3 separate regions of the Homo sapiens genome follow, and regions 1 and 2 are each linked to region 3. The links are contacts of gene promoters, found by promoter capture Hi-C in blood cells and fetal thymus (Javierre and others, 2016). All regions are on one chromosome and are shown on one strand. Each heading gives the region's core, a stretch centred on a gene start or on the middle of the fragment in contact. The rest is flanking DNA. Distances are from core to core; before and after follow the strand shown.

Evidence for each region. The method cuts DNA at HindIII sites, captures the fragments that hold promoters and counts their contacts. A CHiCAGO score of 5 or more calls a contact.
Region 1: a contact is called between a fragment that was not itself captured here and the fragment with the promoter of CCDC97 in region 3, in 1 of 17 cell types (naive CD4 T cells). The highest score is 5.9, in naive CD4 T cells.
Region 2: the fragment with the promoter of CYP2B6 here is called in contact with the fragment with the promoter of CCDC97 in region 3 in 4 of 17 cell types (naive CD8 T cells, non-activated CD4 T cells, total CD4 T cells and 1 more); the score reaches 9.0 in naive CD8 T cells.

Annotation. Positions count from the first base shown.
Region 1 is chr19:40,827,624-40,831,528 of GRCh38, forward strand. No RefSeq gene overlaps it. Among named protein-coding and RNA genes, the nearest start is that of CYP2A6, 21 kb to the right of the region's middle. The HindIII fragment of the contact is 2,459 bases long and covers 1,070-3,528 here.
Region 2 is chr19:40,988,084-40,992,584 of GRCh38, forward strand. CYP2B6 (cytochrome P450 family 2 subfamily B member 6) reads left to right here and starts at 3,199. Exons shown (of 9, transcript NM_000767.5): 1 at 3,199-3,393. The coding sequence starts at 3,223. RefSeq lists promoters at 970-3,238, 1,539-3,204, enhancers at 1,463-1,510, 1,493-1,512 and cis regulatory regions at 1,554-1,566, 2,941-2,964. The HindIII fragment of the contact is 6,148 bases long and covers 1-3,452 here.
Region 3 is chr19:41,308,403-41,312,652 of GRCh38, forward strand. CCDC97 (coiled-coil domain containing 97) reads left to right here and starts at 1,770. Exons shown (of 5, transcript NM_052848.3): 1 at 1,770-1,954. The coding sequence starts at 1,909. It overlaps LOC105372401 (a long non-coding RNA gene), which reads right to left and starts at 1,647. Exons shown (of 2, transcript XR_935968.4): 1 at 1,536-1,647; 2 at 1-1,423. RefSeq lists enhancers at 363-542, 1,816-2,105. The HindIII fragment of the contact is 19,818 bases long and covers 1-4,250 here.

The DNA of each region.
Region 1 (3,905 bases), core at 1,049-3,548, 480 kb before region 3:
CAATGAGCTGAGATCACACCCGGCTAATTTTTTTGTATTTTTAGTAGAGATGGGGATTCACCATGTTGTCCAGACTGGTCTCGAACTCCTGACCTCAAGTGATGTGCCCACCTTGGCTTCCCAAAGTGCTAAGATTATAGGCATGAGCCACCGCGCCTGGTCTAGTTTTTGTATTTTTTGTAGATACAGGGTTTCACCATGTCGCCCAGGCCGGTTTCGAATTCCTGAGCTCAAGTGATCCACCACCTTGGCCTCCCAAAGTGCTAGGATTACAGGCGTGAGCCACCATGCCCGGCCAAAACAGCATATTTCAACACAGCACCCAGGACACAATAGCACAGCCCAAAAAACCAGATCTGGAGTTAGATGGACGCGGTTTGAATCCTCGTTGGTCTCTTAGCCTTGGTGTGACTTGGGCAAACTGACTTCCTTTTTCCGAGCCTCAGTCTTCTCATCTGTAAAATGGGCCTGATGGCACTCCTCTCATCCTGGGGCTACTATAAGGAGTCAGTGAGTGTGTGACTGGGAGTCAGTGAAGGGCCTGACCCATTGCAAGGCTGTTACAGATCATGGTGTTGTGGCAGGTTGTAATGCCCCCCAAAAGATGTCCAGGTCCTTATCCTTACAACCTGTGAATTTGTTACCTTACATGGTAAAAAGGACCTTGCAGGTGGGATTAAGTTGAGGATTTTGAGATGAGAAGTTTACTCTAGACTGTCTGGCTGGGCCTAATGTAATCACAGGGATCCTTTTTAGAGGGAGGCAGGAGGGACTGAGTAAGAAAAGATAATGTAGGCTGGGTGTGGTGGGTCACACCTGTAATCCCAGAATATATTGGGAGGTTGAGGAAGGAGGATTGCTTGAGCACAGGAGTTTGAGACTAGCCTGGGCAACATAGCAAGACTCCCTCTCTATAAAAAGTTAAAAGAATGAGTTGAATGTGGTGGCACATGCCTGTAATCCCAGCTACTTGAGAAGCTAAGGCGGGAGAATCAGTTGAGCTCAGGAGGTCAAGGCTGCAGTGAGCCAAGACCATACCACTGCACTCCAGCCTGGGCAACAAGAGTGAAGCTTCATTTCAAACAAACAAACAAACAATCAAACAAGTAAACAAACAGACCCCAAACTATTATTTTACTTCTGGGGCCCAGAATTCCAAAATCAGCTTCACTGGGATAAAGTCAAGGTGTCAGCAGGGCTGGTACCTCCTGGAGCCTTGATAAGAGGATCCATTTCCTCGCCTTTTCAGCTTCTGGTCGCCCCTTTATTCCTTTGTGCGAAGCCCCTTCATCCATCTTCAAAGCACATCACTCCAGTCTCTGCTTCCATCCTCACATTGTCTCTCTCTGGCTCTTCCTGCACTCCTCTTTTTTTAAAATTAATATTGCCACATTATTTTAAATTATGTACAAAGACCTAACATGTCACTCAGGGACCATTTCACCCACTGCTCTATTTAGCCGCCAGTCTCTTCAGCAATGGTGAGGGTTTGGTGTACACATTATTTCATCACCCAGGTAATAAGCATAGCACCCGACAGGTAGTTTTTCGGTCCTCACCCTCCTCCCATCTTACCCTCAAGTAGGCCCTGCTGTTTGTTGTTCCCTTTTTTGTGTCAATGTGTAGTCAATGTTCAGCTCCCACCTATAAGTGAGAACCTGTGGTGTCTGGTTTTCTGTCCCTGCATTAGTTCACTTAGGATAGTGGCTTCCAGCTCCATCTATGTTGCTGCAAAAGACATTATCTTGTTCCTTTTTATGGCTGTGTAGTATTCCATGGTGTATATATACCACATTTTCTGTCTTTCTCCTTCCTTCCTTCCTTCCTTCATTCCTTCTCTCTCTCTCTCTTTCTTTCTTTCAGACAGAGTCTTGCTCTGTTGCCCAGGCTGGAATGCAGTGGTGTGATCTCATCTCACTGCAACTTCTGCCTCCTGGGTTCAAGTGACTTCTCCTGCCTGAGCCTCCCAAGTAGCTGGGAATACAGGTGCCCGCTACTATGCCTGGCTAATTTTTTTGTATTTTTAGTAGAGACGGGGTTTCACCATGTTGGACAGGCTTGGTCTCGAACTACCGACCTCACGTAATCCACCCACCTTGGCCTCCCAAAGTGCTGGGATTACAGGCGTGAGTCACCACGCCCAGCCCACATTTTCTTTATCCAGTCTACCACTGATGGGCATTTAGGTTGATTCCACATCTTTGCTATTGTGAACAGTGCTGCTGTGAACAAAGGTGTGCACGTGTCTTCATGGTAGAACGATTGATATTCCTTTGTGTATATACTCAATAATGAGATTGCTGGGTCGGATGGTAGTTCTATTTTAAGTTTTTTTAGAAATCACCAAACTACTTTTCACAGTGGCTCTTGGCTTAAATTTGGAAGCAGAGGTACACTCCCTTTACACCTGATTTTTAAATTTCTTTTCTCCTTGATCAGATAATATGTTGACACTATCCAAAATTCAAAAGATACAAAATGATGGAAAGTGAAATTTCTTCAACCCAGTTTCCCTTGCCAAGTTGATACTAATGTTACCAGTTTCCAGGTTATTCCATACACAAATATACAAATAGTAACTTACTATATCCACTGTATCTGTCAGGTTGGGTTGGAATTTTTTTTCTTTTTCTTTTAAGACCGTCTCACTCTGTCTTTCAGGCTGCAGTGCAGTAGGGCAATCTTGGCTCACTGCGACCTCTGCCTCCCGGGCTCAAGTGATTCTTGGGCCTCAGCCTCCTGAGTAGCTGAGATTACAGGTGTGTGCCACCACACCTGGCTATTTTTTGTATTTTTAGTAGAGACAGGGTCTTGCCATGTTGGCCAAGCTGGTCTTGAATTCCTGGTCTCATGATCTGCCCACCTCAGCCTCCCAAAGTGTTGGGATTAGAGGTGTGAGCTCCTGGCCATTGTGCTGGGTATTCTATTTGCCCTACCATCTCCACTCTCCACCATGACCTGTCTTTTAGAAGGGTGGCCTCTATAAACTGTACCACCCATGCTCCCTTCACCTCTACATTAAAAAAATTTTTGGGTTTGGCCAATGGAAGTTTGAGAGAAGAGCAATGTCAGATTATTTTGCTTGGCTGTGTGATAGCAATGGTTGTATTCCTCTGCCAGAAACCATGCCCTCCTGCTGGGGGCTCTCTTTTACCCCTATACAATCAGTCTCGGTTTCGGAAACTACTCCCTCTCACTGCACCTTTCAACCTAAGGATGATGATGGCGTCTCCTTATTGTAAGCCATAGAGTGCTTCAACGTCTTGTAGGGTTCTTTCACACTGCCCTCCACTTTGTAAAAAGTCCCTCCATTGGCCAGGCGCGGCGGCTCACACCTGTAATCCCAGCACTTTTGGAGGCCGAGGCGGGCGGATGACGAGGTCAGGAGATCGAGACCTTCCTGGCTAACATGGTGAAACCCTGTCTCTACTAAAAACACAAAAAATTAGCCGGGCGTGGTGGCGGGTGCCTGTAGTTCCAGCTACTCGGGAGGCTGAGGCAGGAGAATGGCCTGAACCCGGGAGGCGAAGCTTGCAGTGAGCTGAGATCGCGCAATTGCACTCCAGCCTGGGCGAAACAGCGAGACTCCGACTCAAAAAAAAAAGTCCCTCCATTAAGCACTCATATTTTTCTGCTGGGGTTCTGATGGACCAAGTCTATCAAATGAATGCATCATAATTTGTTTAACCAATATCTTGGTGCATATGTTGGTTTCCTATTTTTCATTATGTAAACAGTTCTTTGATGAATCTAGGTGATTTTGCACACTTTCTTGTACATCATAGGAGACATTACTAGAAGTGGAGTTAACTGAATCTGAGAGTATGTTCTTTTGTAATTTAGAGAAAAGCATTCACATTACTCTCCTCTGAAGCTGTACCAATTTATAGTTCCACAAACCGTAA
Region 2 (4,501 bases), core at 1,949-4,448, 320 kb before region 3:
TGACTGCTTGTCCTAGGACCCCTCGGATAGTAACAGATCTGGAAATCCAGCTAGTCCTGTCTCTCAAAACTACAATGATAAACAATAAGAGAAAAAGAAAGGAAGAAAGGATATACATACATAAAGAAGCCAACTAATAATATGACAGGATTAAGCTCTCACATATCAATAATAACCTTGAATTAAATGGATTAAACTTTCCACTTAAAAGAAAGAGACTGGCTGAATGGATTTAAAAAGCATGACCCAGCTATATGCTGCCTACAAGAAACACATCTCACCAGGAAAGACATATATAGTGAAAGTAAAGAAATGAGAAAAGATATTCCATGCAAATAAAAACCAAAAGTGAGCAGCAATACCTATGTTTATAAAGGAAACAGACTTTAAGTCAAAAACTGTAAAAAGAGACAAAGAAGGTCAATACATAATGATAAAAGGATCAATCGAGCAAAGGATCCATGAGGAAATTCCTGCCTAATAAATTTTGGTCAGACCGGTTGTCTGCTCTCAAACCTTGTCTCCTGATAAGATGTTATCAATGACAATGCTTGCCCGAAACTTCATTGCAATTTTAATTTCACCCCGGTCCTGTGGTCCTGTGATCTCGCCCTGCCTCCATTTGCCTTGTTATATCTTATTACCTTGTGAAGCATGTGATCTCTGTGACCTACACCCTATTCGTACACTCCCTCCCCTTTTGAAAATCACTAATAAAAACTTTCTGGTTTTACGGCTCAGGGGGCATCATGGAACCTGCCGACATGTGATGTCTCCCCCGGACCCCCAGCTTTAAAATTTCTCTCTTTTGTGCTCTGTCCCTTTATTTCTCAGGCTGGCCGACACTTAGGGAGAACAGAAAAGAACCTACGTGGAATATTGGGGGTGAATTTTGCCCGATATCTGGCTGAATTTCCCCTGATAATGCCACTCTCTATGTCCATGTGTACACATTGTTTAGCACCCACTTATGAATGAGAACATGTGATATTCACTTTCTGTGCCTGGCTTGTTTCACTTAAGATAATCCCCTCCAGTTGTATCCATGTTGCTATAAAAGACATTATTTTATTCCTTTTTATGGCTAAATAGTATTCAATGGTGTATATATACCACATTTTATTTAACCATTCATCTGTTGATTCCCTATTTTTGCTATTGTAAATAGCATTTGGACCACATTTCAAGTACTTAATTAGTGGCCACATGCAGCAAGTGACTATCACATTGGACAATGTAGCCCCAACCCACTGTATGACCTTGGGTAAGACTTGCAAACTGTCATTGCTTCAATATCTCCATCTATAAAATGGGGATGGCAACAATACCTCACTAAGAGTGTAAAGACTGAGTTACTGTGTGTAAAGCACTTCACGCCTCCCCATCGGTGCTTCACCCTGGGGCTGCAATGAGCACCCAATCTTAGTGTCAGATGACACAGCACAGCAAGACCGAGGCCCTTGGTTCAGGAAAGTCCATGCTGCCACCTCTTCAGGGTCAGGAAAGTACAGTTTCCACCTCTTACAAATAGGACTGTTTGTCTGCTCCTCCTGGGTCAAAGTAACTTCGGGTTCAGGTCCTGGATCCAGCAAAGGGTTTGCTTAACATTGCAAGAAAGATGTTGCCTCATGGTCAAAAGTCAGGCGTAGGATGAGACAGGCAGACACGCACACATTCACACCCACGTTTTGCAAAGATGGACTGACCCTGTCAGAGGATGTGTGGGTGAAGGTGCACAGTGAGGATAGAGACATATGGGAGTCCAGTAGACATCAATCAAACTGGACTCAGTTTGCACACACCTGGAGCTCAAGAGTCTCCAGGGGGAAAACAGAGACACAAAGTCAGACAGAGAGAGAGCCAGAGAAATTTCCTGCACCGTGAAGATAGTCAGAGGCAGGGAAGAAACTCCTTAGCACTAGTTAGAGTGATCAGAAACCAAGAGGACCTGATCGCTGTACCTGCCAGGTCTCAGTTTCTGTCTCCTTCCAACTGACCACCTCTTCCTCTGAGACTCACCAGTTCTGCATCTCTTGCTCCTCCTTCTGTTTCTCCGACCACTTCCACCTGTGGCTGTCACAGAAGGGCGGATGAAGGAGGGGACACTGGAGATAGACTCAGCATCTGCAGGCTTCCAAAGAGAGGGGCTAGGAGATCCACCAACACACCAGCACAAATACACCAGCACACACAGATACACACAATTGGTTCATGTATTGCTAGGTTACAGTTTGCTATGCTACAAAGGCAGTAGGCCAAATTTGATTGAATTGAATAATTCCTTATTTTCATCAGCTTCTCCTTTTTTTTTTTTTTTTTTTTTTTTTGAGATGGAGTATTGCTGTGTCACCCAGGCTGGAGTGCAGTGGTGTAATCTTGGCTCACTGCAGCCTCCACCTCCCAGGTTCAAGTGATTCTCTTGCCTCAGCCTCCCGAGTAGCTGGGATTAAAAGTACCCACCATCACGCCCGGTTAATTTTTGTGTTTTTAGTACAGATGGGGTTTTGCCATGTGGGCCAGGATGGTCTCGAACTCTTGACCTCAATTGATCTGCCCCCCTCAGCTTCCCAACGTGCTGGGATTACAGGTGTGAGCCACCGCACCCAGCCAGCCTCTCAGTTTTGAACATGCACTACCACCACCTCCACAACACACAAATGTAAATGCACTTTCGTATATAAAACTGTATAAATACAAGGAAGCTCATACACATGCAAGGATACACACATAAGCACCCCCAGATTCAACCACAGAAATATACGCCAGTACATTTGCATAAATTCAAACACCCCTTTACATGTAAAAATCATATAAGCACATACAGGGATGCAAGCAGGCATGGACAAATGCATGCAAGCACAGACAAACAGACAAAGCTAAGTAAAAAAGTGCAAGCTCACCTATGCTTACAAAAATAGACATACATATACCCACAAACCCACACACCCACACATTCACTTGCTCACCTGGACTTTGATATCTCTACCACTGTATCCCTGCCAATATCTACAGAGTGGGTAAAGGGATAGGCATCAGGTCACTGGGTTGCCCAAGCAGGAAGTCTGGGTTCCCTAACAACTTTTTCTAAGCTAATGCTCCTGGATGATGATGAAAAAGGAGGTGGGGAATGGATGAAATTTTATAACAGGGTGCAGAGGCAGGGTCAGGATAAAAGGCCCAGTTGGAGGCTGCAGCAGGGTGCAGGGCAGTCAGACCAGGACCATGGAACTCAGCGTCCTCCTCTTCCTTGCACTCCTCACAGGACTCTTGCTACTCCTGGTTCAGCGCCACCCTAACACCCATGACCGCCTCCCACCAGGGCCCCGCCCTCTGCCCCTTTTGGGAAACCTTCTGCAGATGGATAGAAGAGGCCTACTCAAATCCTTTCTGAGGGTAAGACACAGACGAATGGGGTCTGAGGGTGAGCTGCTTCTTGCCTTGGTACTTGGGGAAGCTTCACCAAACAGAATGAGGCAGACTTCCAGAGTCAGGGGTGGCACGGGCATGGTTGGTGAGTACGGAGCATGGTGAAGCATGATGGGTGGTATTATTAGGAGAAAAGCATCAAATTAAATTTAGCAGAGTTTATTTGAGCAAAGAAGTGACTCATGAGTTGGACAGCTCCCTAAACCAGGAAAGACACCACACGGCAGTATGGTCAAGTGGTATTTACAGGCAGAAAAAGGAGGTGACATACAGAAACAGCCTGATTGGCCACAGATCACAGCTTGCCTTACTTGGTCACAATCTGAGCAGTTTGCAGCCTGTGTGGACTGAAAGCCCAGCTGCTCTGATTAGCCAACACTTGGCTACTTGTCACAAGAATATATTCATTTGGGCCAGGTGCAGTGGCTCATGCCTGTAATCCCAGTGCTTTTGGAGGCCGAGGTGGTGGATCACCTGAGGTCAGGAGTTCGAGACCAGCCTGGCCAACATGGTGAAACCTTGTCTCTACTAAAAATACAAATATTAGCTGGGCATAGTGATGCGTGCCTGTAATCTCAGCTACCCAGGAGGCTGAGGAAGGAGAATCACTTGAATCCAGGAGGCAGAGGTTGCAGTGAGCCAAAATCTTACCACTGCACTCCATCCTGGGTGACAGAGTGAGACTCCTTCTCAAAAAAAAAAAAAAAAAAAAGAATATACTCCCAAGTTAGGTTGCAGTTCACTCTACAGAGAGAGCTTTAGGTCAAATTTAATTTAATTAAACAATTCTCCCCTTTTGGTCAGCCTCAAAATTTTGAGATTGACCAAAACCTTGGGCATCAACATTACTTCTGTCACCATCATAATGGACTTGTCTGCTCTCAGTATGGAATTCACAATGGACAATGTCAACGTAGTTGAGTGATTCTTTACCTTTTCTTCATGTTTTTGTTGTTCCCACTGTAATGAGCCCACTGGATGTACAAAGAATGGCTGCATATGAGCATTTAAGACTCTTTTTTTTTCTGAGACAGGGCCTCACTCTGTCAGCCAGGCTGAAGTGCTGTGGCATGAT
Region 3 (4,250 bases), core at 520-3,019:
TGCTGTGTTCCTGGCTCCTTGTGAGAGACAATGCTGGGCCACAGGAGAAGCCAATTCAGCCCCAATCTTCCCTGGTGGGAGCTCAGAGCCTTGTGAAGGGGAGATGGGCAACAAAAACAAGGGAGGGAAACTGACTAGTCTCAGAATCTCGGGTAGGGCATCAGAACGTGAGAAGGAACCAAGGTTGGTGGCTAAAAGGGACCCTAGAATGCGCCAGAGAGGAGGTGGCAGGGCCTTTAGTCTGGAAAGTCCCCTTCCCTTCATGTCCATATGCTGGGCTACAGCGCCCTCTGCTGGCCTCTCCTGGTAATGCCTAGGAATCTGGGTTGGTAAATAGGGACCTCCTTGGCTTTCTTCCACAACTCCAGACCTCAAGGGAATGCAAATGGGGAAGCTCTTCCTCTGTTCTCAGCCAGTTTTTCTCACACGTCTCATCTCCAGTCCCTTGATGCCCACTCCCTTCAGAATAAAGGAGGTCAAGCCACTTACTATGGCTTATGAGGCCCTGCATGGCCTAGCACCTGGTAACATCGCTGGCGCCCTCTCTTTCTGCTCCCCCTTTGAATATCAAATCAGTGTTTATTTTGTTCTGAGGAGCCATAAGTCCTTTTTGGAACCCACAAATGATGCCATGAACCACTGCATTGGAGAATACAGAGGTACATGGAATTTTGCATAAAAATTCATGAGGTTCTCAAAACCTCCACAGCCCAATCATGGCTTTCAAGTTAGAGCTCCTTTCCTATGCCCTGACCGTAGTGAAGTGCTTGCAGCAACCAGAACCGTCCGTACGTGCCATCCTCCTCAAGACTCTTCCCTACCTTCCTCTTAACCCAGCTCCTACTCGTTCTTCAGGTCTTAGCTTGAGGGTACCCTCCCAGAAAGAAGGCTTCCTTGACCCTCCAGCCTGGGGTGGACAGCTCCCTCAGCCCTCTGGATCCATCAAAGCCCTGGCCACTGAGTGACATGTCTGTCTACTCTGCTGGTAACACCTAAATAGAGCCCCACCCATCCCATAGGGAAATAAGGACCAGAGTTGTCTTGTTTCACACCTGTAGATTTCCTCCAGGTCCTGGGAACACAAAATGGGAAGTTCTATCTCACTATCCATCTCATGCCAGCCAGAGACAGGGTATGATGACGGAAGTAAGCCAGGCTGGTGGCTCACGCGCGTAATCCCAGCATTTTGAGAGGCTGAAGCGGGAGGATTGCTTGAGGCCAGGAGTTGGGGACTAGCCTGGGCAACAAAGTGGGACCCCTGGCTCTACAAAAAAATTTTAAAAATTAGCCGGGCGCGGTTGTGCGCGCCTGTAGTCCCAAGTACTCCAAAGGCTGAGGCAGGAGGATCACTTGAGCACAGGAATGTGAGGTTACTTGAACTGTGATCGCGCCACTGCATTCGTCTAGGCGACAAAGCGAGACCCTGTCTCAAAAAAAAAAAAAAAAAAAAGAGTCAAGGCTTAGTAATATTCCTGAATTCCTGAAGGAGTTAAGAAAGGAAAAGGACAAGCGGGGGTCTAAACGAGAGCACGAACCCTCAGCGTATGACGGCTCCAGGCTCCGGGGGAAAGTCCTTTAGCCATCCATCCCAAAATTAAGCACGCTGGGAGCTGGAGTCACAGCAGTGATAAAACGAACAATGATTCTGGTTCCTACTGACTGACAGGAGAGGTTTAAGGGTCTCTCACTCTCCGGGGAGCCCCTTTCCTTCCTGGCTGCGGAGGGCGGAGCCCGAGAGAGGCACGCATGCGCAATGCAACGTCTGCCTTAGGCCCGGAACTTCGGTGCCTGGGCGCAGCGGTGCACCCGGACCCGGAACATTCTCAGGCGAAAGTGTCTCTTGCGTGCGTGGGCCGGAGGTTAGTGTGCGGGGCCCGCCGGGCGGTTGAAAAGTCCGAGAGAATCAGGATGGAGGCCGTGGCGACGGCGACGGCGGCGAAGGAACCCGATAAGGGTGAGATCTTGGTCACGCGCAGGCGGCGGGTGGGTGCGGTTGCGGTGTCTCTAGGAAATGATTCCCCCAGGAACGCGAAGTAGGACTCGTTTTAGGGGGACACCCACCCCCCTCAGCTTTACCGGTCCTCTTCACTACTTTGCCCAGATTATTCCCTCCCTTGTCGCGGGCTGACCTTCTTTTCCTCCATTCCTTCCCCCCGAAATTAACCTCTTCCCAGTTCCAGACCAATCCTTTCCATGTCCCTAATTCATTTCCTTACCAGGCTAACTCTCAAATTAACAGAAACCTCTCTACCCCGGCCTAATTCCTGCATTGCCTCAGACCAGCCCTTCTCAAATTACCTCCTTCCCTGTACCAAGCTGAGCCTTCCCTTGCTCTCTAGACGAATCCTCCTACCTTTCCAGGCTAAACTTCTACCTGCCTCATGCAAACTTATCCCAATCTAACGATTCCTTCATTTCATTGTAACTCCCGTTTCCCCCAAAGTCCGAAATCCAGCCAGGCTCCTTTCAAAGTCCTTACTCAATTTCTGTGCTTTCCCACAACCTTCAAAGTAATCCGACGTCGGGTGAGGTGTGATTGGAAGCGTGGCTCCAACACCACTGGCCAAGAATTGGTAATTGTGGAAGCCAGATGGAGATGATTGGTATATGGAGGTAGGGGGAGAATTGTCGTTGTACTTTCTACTTTTGTGTATGTTTGAAATTTTCTAAAAATAAAAAATTTAACCTAAAAAAAGTCTTAAGGCCGGGTGCAGTGGCTCCCGCTTGTAATCCCAACACTTTGGGAGGCCAAGGCAGGAGAGTTGCTTGAGCCCAAGAGTTTGAGACCAGCCTGGGCAAGAGAGAGAAACCTGATCTCTATAAACATTTAAAAATTAGCCAGGCCTGGTGGCTAGGGAGTAGCTAGGACAAGCTACTCAGGAGACTAAGGTGGGAGTGTCACTCGAATCCTTTGAGATTGCAGTGACCTAAGATTATTACACCACTGCACTCCAGCCTCTGCAGCAGAGTGAGACTTGAGCCCAGGAGTTTGAGACCAGCACTGGCAACATAGCCAGACCCCATCTCTACAAAAAATTTAAAAATTAAGGCCGGGCCCGGTGGCTTACACCTGTAATCGCAGCACTTTGGAAGGCGGAGGCAGGAAGATCACCTCAGGTCAGGAGTTGGAGACCAGCCTAGCCAACATAGCGAAACCCCATCTCTACTAAAAATACAAATATTAGCCAGGCGTCGTGGTATGTGCCTGTAATCCCAGCTACTCGGGAGGCTGAGGCACCAACTGGAATCACTTGAACCCGGGAGGCGGAGGTTGCAGTGAGCAGAGATCGCACCACTGTACTCCAGTCTGGGTAACAGAGCAAAACTCTGTCTCAAAAAAAAAAAAATTAGCCAGGTTTGATGGTGCATTCCTGTGGTCCCGGCTACTCAGGAGTCTGAGGCGGGAGGATCACTTGAGCCCAGGAGGTCAAAGCTGCAGTGAGCTGTGTTTGCACTATTGCATTGCAGTCTGAGCAACAGAGCAAGACCCTGTTTCAAAAAAAAGAAAAAAAATTTGTCTCTTGGCCCCATCTGTCTCCTTCAGAGAGTCATGTATACTTGGTCTTCATTTCCTCGTCTCCTGCTCACGACTGTCTGACTTTTCTCCTAAGAAACTGCTCTGATTAGGGTCTGCACTGACTTCCCCCATGTTGTTCAATTCAGTCCCCCCATTCAGGTTTTTGTTTGTTTGTTTGTTTTTTGAGAGAGTCTCACTCTGTTGCCCAGGCTGGAGTGCAGTGGCATGATCTCAGCTCACTGCAACCTCCACCTCCCAGGTTCAAGTGATTCCCGTGCCTCAGCCTCCCAAGTAGCTGGGATCACAGGTGCCCGCCACTATGCCTGTCTAATTTTGTATATTTTTAGTAGAGATGGGGTTTCACCATGTTGGCCAGGCTGGCCTCGAACTTCTGACCTCAAGAGATCCTCCTGCCTCAGCCTCCCATAGTGCTGGGATTACAGGTGTGAGCCACCACACTTGGCCCATTCAGGTTTTTTTTCTTACTAGACTGGACTAGAATTAAATGCTGTTGATCCTTCCATCCTTTTTGCATGTTTTCCTTTGGCTTCAGCGACACCACAGTGCCTGATTTCCTGCCTGTCTCTCAGGCTGCTCCTTCTCAGCCTGACTTTGTTTCCCAGGGGTGCTGTAACAAAGTACTACAAACTGCATGGCTTCAAACAACAGAACTTTATTCTCTCATAGTTCTCAAGGCCAGAAGGCTGAAGTCAGTGTTGCTGAACTGAAATCC